2 separate regions of the Homo sapiens genome follow, and region 2 is linked to region 1. Evidence: promoter capture Hi-C in 16 types of primary human blood cells and fetal thymus (Javierre and others, 2016). All regions are on one chromosome and are shown on one strand. The core of a region is centred on a gene start or on the middle of the fragment in contact, and the rest is flanking DNA. Distances in the headings are between cores, read along the strand shown. Region 1 holds the start of LRP1-AS (LRP1 antisense RNA). Region 2 overlaps NEMP1 (nuclear envelope integral membrane protein 1).

Region 1 (2,700 bases), core at 82-2,581:
AGGAAGGGAAAAGTGAAGTTGGCCAGCTGGACCTGGGACCCATTTCGCAACCTTGCTGCCTGCAGCCTAGGGGCCCTTTGCTGAGCTCCCCAGCCACCTCCTTCTTCCCCATGCAGCATGGTGCAGGGAGGGGAACCCTGAGACCTCTGAGAGCCCCTTCAGACCATCCTTTCACACACAGTCCAAACTCCTGAGTGACTTCAGCAAACCCGATTTCCTTCAAGGCCTCTATTTACAACCTCAGAACCTCCCCTCACCATACACACCCATGTTCCCAGGACCCCAATCTTGCAGTCTGCCTCATTCTTTCTACAGTGGTGGCATCCTCCAAGGTGAAGGGAATACAGATCAGAGGAGCTCAGCTTAGGAAATGCAGGGCTGGGCTGGGGTCGGTAGACTGCACCACCAGGCCTGCCCAGGGGCAGCCTGGCAGGAGGCTGGACAAAGCTGGGTTACAGGCTCCATAGGCCTCTGGAGCTGAGAGACTGGTCAGAGGTGGGGGTGAGAGTGCGCAGGCCTGGTTCCTGACTAAGGGACTATCAGGCCTGTTGATCCCTCTGGGCCTCAATTTTCAGAACTTTAGTCTTTTGTGTATCACTTTCAAAATGTCTACCATGCTTATGTACAGCTTGCGCTACTGTTTATTACCAGTTATTTCAATTAACTTACTTTTCTTATTTCGCTGCATGCTAAACAATTGCTGAAGTAACAGATTTGATGTGCTAGTTACAGGAGTTTCCTAATGCATATCAAATAAAAACGTAACTATAACAGTTAAAAAAAAAAAAAAAAAGCTTGTCCAGGTACCATCTAAAATCAAATCAATGCATAGCCCCTTTGAGAAAGCAGTAGTGAAAGCCAGGGCTGCTCTTGGTACTGGCCAAGGGTCTTGCCTTCTCTTCCGGCTCTCACCATGGAGTTCTCTGGTCTTGGAATTCGAGCCTCATAGACCTCCCCAAACCACTGGGCCAGCGGCAGAGGGGAGGGGGAGGTAATCTCAGGTGGGAGGAAAAGAGATGACCCACCCAATCCAGGGGGATAACACTGGGCCTGAGGCAGGAGGGTCAGCAGCCCTGGGGCATTGAAGAGGAATGTTCACACACTGCAGGGCCTCAGGGGGGCCCTCGGGGGCTCTCAGGACTCCACAACAGGTCTGACTCACATGGCCCAGGACACATGTGAACCAGGCTCATTTCCTGGCCTCCTTCCTTCTTTCTATTCTATTTCTGCTTCCAGAGTTTTCTCTGGGGCAGGCTCCCCCTTCTGCCTGCACCAGCGGGCTGGCCTCGCTGGCTCGAACACCCCTCAATTGTCAGACTCCTCCCTCTGTGTGCACCCCTGCTGCATGAGGCTCAGCCCCAGGGGTCCAACAGAGGTCACAGTCACAGCACAGAATGGAAGGCTTGCAGGGAGGGCTGCCCTGGAGGGCAGAGTGAAAGCAGGGGAAAGCTGCAGCCTTTCTTCTTCGTCCTCCTTGGGGAGCTAATTACAGGCCAGCAGCCACTGTGCAGGTGAGTGCCTGGGACCAGCCACCCTACACACCAGGGCAGGCCAGTCAGCATCTCCTGGGGAGGGGGATGACCCAGAAACTGGGGGAGGGGCTAGGGGAGAGACACTGACGTCCTCAGTTTGGGACCCATAATTAGTTTGTGGGAGAGAGCAAAACAACCATCCTCAGGGTGACAGCCAGACATTCAGGCGGCAGGGACGTGGAGCAGGGGGAGGGCAGGGAGGAAGGGACAGAAGCTGGGATGAGAGAAACCCACTCATTTACCCCACAAGCATTTCCCCTTGGACTCTTCTAGCCTCCTGGACTCTGCCCCTGAGAGGCCCAGTGAGTTTAGCAGACTGGGAGGCAAGGCAAATCTGTTTGCCAAGGGAGGGGTACCAGCTTCTCCTGGGGAGGAAGTCAGATAAGGAGATGAGGCCAGAGTAGAAGTTGAGAAGGTTACCTCCAGGACACCCCATAGCCACCTACCCAGAAGCCCACTGTATGGCAAGATGCAGGGCTGGGGAGGAAACTGACAAGCTGTCTGCCCAGACAGGCCTGTTGAGTAGGTCAGTGGACAAGGAACAGGGGGAGGGCAGCTGCACAAGAGGGTCTAGCACCAATCCCACCCCATCAGCCATGGGGTTCCCTGAGTCGCCCACTCGTTAAGAGCTCAGCCAACCAGGCTTGACAGCCCCCAGCTCAGCACCCCAAGGAGGACACATGTCTGATCACAGGTGAGCTGTGGACAGCAGCAGCCCAAGGACGCTATCAGGGATGCTCTGGAGGAGCCAAAGGCAGAAATGTGAACCTTACGCTGAGGCCACGGAGAGTGAGGGCTCTCAGAGGAACCCCTGCTCGCCACCATCCCGGGGAGGGGCCTTTCTCTCTCCCAGAATGAATCCCTTGTAACCTCCTGGGATCTTTCTTTTCATCACAAGAACCAAATAAAGAAACTTGAAGATCTTCTAGAGAGGCCCAAGGTTCACAATCCTCAACTTCAAAGTGTGCTGTCCTTTACCACTGGCTTTCACTCCAGTTAATCTGATCTAGACAGACAAGCTCAAACCCATTATGCAGATTAGGAAACCAAGGCAGAGATGGGAATTCTGGTTTACTAAACAGTTACAGATCAAGTTAATCTCCCTTAGGGGGTCAGATCAACCACAGGCCAGATTCTTCCTCTCAGCCCTGTGGTGCATTTCTTTGGA
Region 2 (2,789 bases), core at 32-2,531, 88 kb after region 1:
AGTTCATTATAACTAAAGATGTCCATGGAATTTTTAGGAGTGATGACTCTTAATGTTCAGGCTGTCTGCTGTATTCTTGGCCCACTGAAGGGAGCTAGAAGTAAGGATGGATATAGATTACTGATTAATGATTCATAATGTTATTTTGGTGAGCACAGAAAGGTGTGTAAGGGAGCAGAAAAGCCTGTTCCCCCTCGTCTCCTGACAGAAGAAGAATATCGGATACAAGGAGAGGTAGAAACCCGAAAGGCTTTAGAGGAGCTCCGAGAATTTTGTAACAGTCCAGACTGCTCTGCTTGGAAGACTGTTTCTCGAATCCAGTCTCCAAAAAGGTAAACTCGGCCAGATATACCAAGCATCTATCAGGGTAATTGTGACCTTGAGTTCTACCAGAGATCATACTTCTAGAGAATCGTGCACTTGTGACCTTTGTTTTCCTGTTAATCTTCAAGTAGTCAAGAGAAGGGTGGATATATAATCACACATTAAGCAGTAACCTGTTTCCTCAGGGAACTATCTACTCTAGCTTTGATTGTAGCATTAAGATGGGAAGACTCCAGTACCATATTAAGTTTCCCTTCTGAAAGTTTTGCATTGCTGTCTGAGTTGGTAGGGTTCCCCCCTACCCACTTTTTAGTTGGGGGCAAATGTACCAATGAGTATGTGAAGCTTCAATTTGGAATCATGATGGCATAAAGTTTACAGGGCCATAAACGTGAATAACTGTAATGCCCCTTAATCTTCTCTTATCAGGATTACAGATGACTAAAGGAACCTTGGCACTTTCATAATTAGAAAGGATAGGCAAGTGCTTATTAAGCAGGATGGAGTTGCAGGGGTATTAGCCTATGATCCCAGCTTTCCTTTTCTCCTTAACTTCATGCTTTAGTCTACTTACCTGCCAGAGTAAGGACAAGGATGTTGGCTAGACTTAATATAATTTGAGTTGCGAGCATATCGAGGGCTTTAATTTGTTCTTATTTTGAAAGAAGACCAGAAAGGACAGAAGGATATTTCTAACGAGTATTATCTTCTCTTTTCCAGATTTGCTGACTTTGTGGAAGGCTCTTCCCACCTCACGCCAAATGAAGTTTCTGTCCATGAGCAGGAGTATGGATTAGGGAGCATTATTGCCCAGGATGAAATCTATGAGGAAGCATCCTCTGAGGAGGAGGACTCATATTCTCGGTGTCCTGCTATCACACAGAACAACTTTCTAACCTAGGTAGTGGTCAGTTATCTTTACGTGGACTGGCTTGGTGCCTTGGTCCATGTTGCATGTGTTGTGCAATTGCTTTCAACCCTTTGAAACAGAGTGAGATAGATAGGGTAGAAATTCTCCTACTGAAATAAGAGGCCTAAAAAGGCCTCCCTTTGGAAATGGGAGGTCTCTATGGGATCCCTGAGGAAGGAGAGTGGATAAAGTAGTGAATGCTGGGTAGTTCACTTCCCATTGGTTAAGCTAACAGCCCACTTTTATGTTTCCAGAGAAATTGGATGGCCACAGCTAGCATGGCATTCTAGCTCCTTCTTGAAAGTTGATTCAATCATGGCATTTCTGTCACTGGCTGGCTCTCCAAAGTAAGAACTGTTGTTAAGTGCAGGAATGCTTTTAGACTATAGGCTGCAACTTCCAGAGAGAAATCCACAAATCTGAGCCTCCTTCACTCCAGCTTTTATTTCAGTGACTTTAGAATAATTATTGATTTAACTGTTTTGGGAGGAAAATAGATTTTTATTGTTTTGTTTTTTAAATGAATGTCTTTTAAAAAACATAACAAACTCATGTTCCAGAACCAGCAAGTGCTCCAGAGTGACACACCCCCTAGGCCCCTACATATTTATTAATATGGATTATCCATTAAAGCCCCAGGAGCTGTTGTTTTAAGCTTTGATTTAGTTCTCATACATATGATAGAAAGTCCTATTTGCCTTTAGGAACATGCCTGTAGGCTCTTCTGCAGGTGAGATGTACTGGGCTTTTTATTATATTCAACTTTCAATTCCATCTTAAAAAACATTTGTATTCTTCTCTTCCCATTCTTCCTTACCCTGCCTTTGCCCTTTCAGGAAGGGTCAGTTCCCTTACCTGTGAACTATGTATGTTCAGAGTAGCATTATTCCTGCTAGCTAGGAGAAGTCATCTTGTTTAGGGGATTTGGATGCTTTTTATACGTTCTCCATTTTCCTGTCATTGGGTCATGTTATCTTTGAGTTGCTATGAAATCAGGAAACTGTCTCCTTTTCCTTTCCCTTCCTTTGTCTACATGCTCTGTCCATTCCTTTCAGCCTTTTCTCACCACCCATACTCCCCCAAATCTGGGTAATTTTTAAGCCTTGAAACTATGTAGTTTCTTGATACACAATTTGTAGTTATGCAGCAGCCACAATTTGCATTGCCAGGAAATAGGCTCCAGGTTATCTTCATGCCTCTGGGTGCTCATTCAGCTGTCAAGTTTCCATGAACTTACACTTATTTATGATTGCGTTTCTGACCTGAGATGTATGCTGCCTGTTATTGCAGTAGCATTAGTTTCAGATTCTTTTGCCATTGCAAAGTACCCCTTATAAACCAGCAATGTCATCTGTGAGGAAGCAAATTCTCAAGTGTCTGTCATTTACTTGGTTCTTTTTCTTTGTGGTCTTCACCCTTATACCCTGGAAAAGTCTGTAATTACCTTAGCCAGGAAGATAGATGGTCATGGCAAGCGCACAGCACCAGACTTACTGGCTCACCAAGATGATGGAAAAAGGCAGATGATTTTTTAAAAAGCCGTAATGACTCCTTT

The links. The method cuts DNA at HindIII sites, captures the fragments that hold promoters and counts their contacts. A CHiCAGO score of 5 or more calls a contact.
Region 2: a fragment that was not itself captured here is called in contact with the fragment with the promoter of LRP1-AS in region 1 in 3 of 17 cell types (megakaryocytes, M0 macrophages and M2 macrophages); the score reaches 6.0 in megakaryocytes.

The regions. Positions count from the first base shown.
Region 1 is chr12:57,146,250-57,148,949 of GRCh38, reverse strand. It overlaps LRP1-AS (LRP1 antisense RNA), which reads left to right and starts at 1,331. Exons shown (of 2, transcript NR_131938.2): 1 at 1,331-1,511. The region is part of intron 6 of LRP1 (LDL receptor related protein 1); the gene reads right to left. RefSeq lists an enhancer at 1,789-2,700. The HindIII fragment of the contact is 5,560 bases long and covers 797-2,700 here.
Region 2 is chr12:57,058,315-57,061,103 of GRCh38, reverse strand. NEMP1 (nuclear envelope integral membrane protein 1) reads left to right here. Exons shown (of 9, transcript NM_001130963.2): 8 at 159-332; 9 at 1,045-2,789. The coding sequence ends at 1,225. Among named protein-coding and RNA genes, the nearest start is that of MYO1A, 9.6 kb to the right of the region's middle. The HindIII fragment of the contact is 1,220 bases long and covers 672-1,891 here.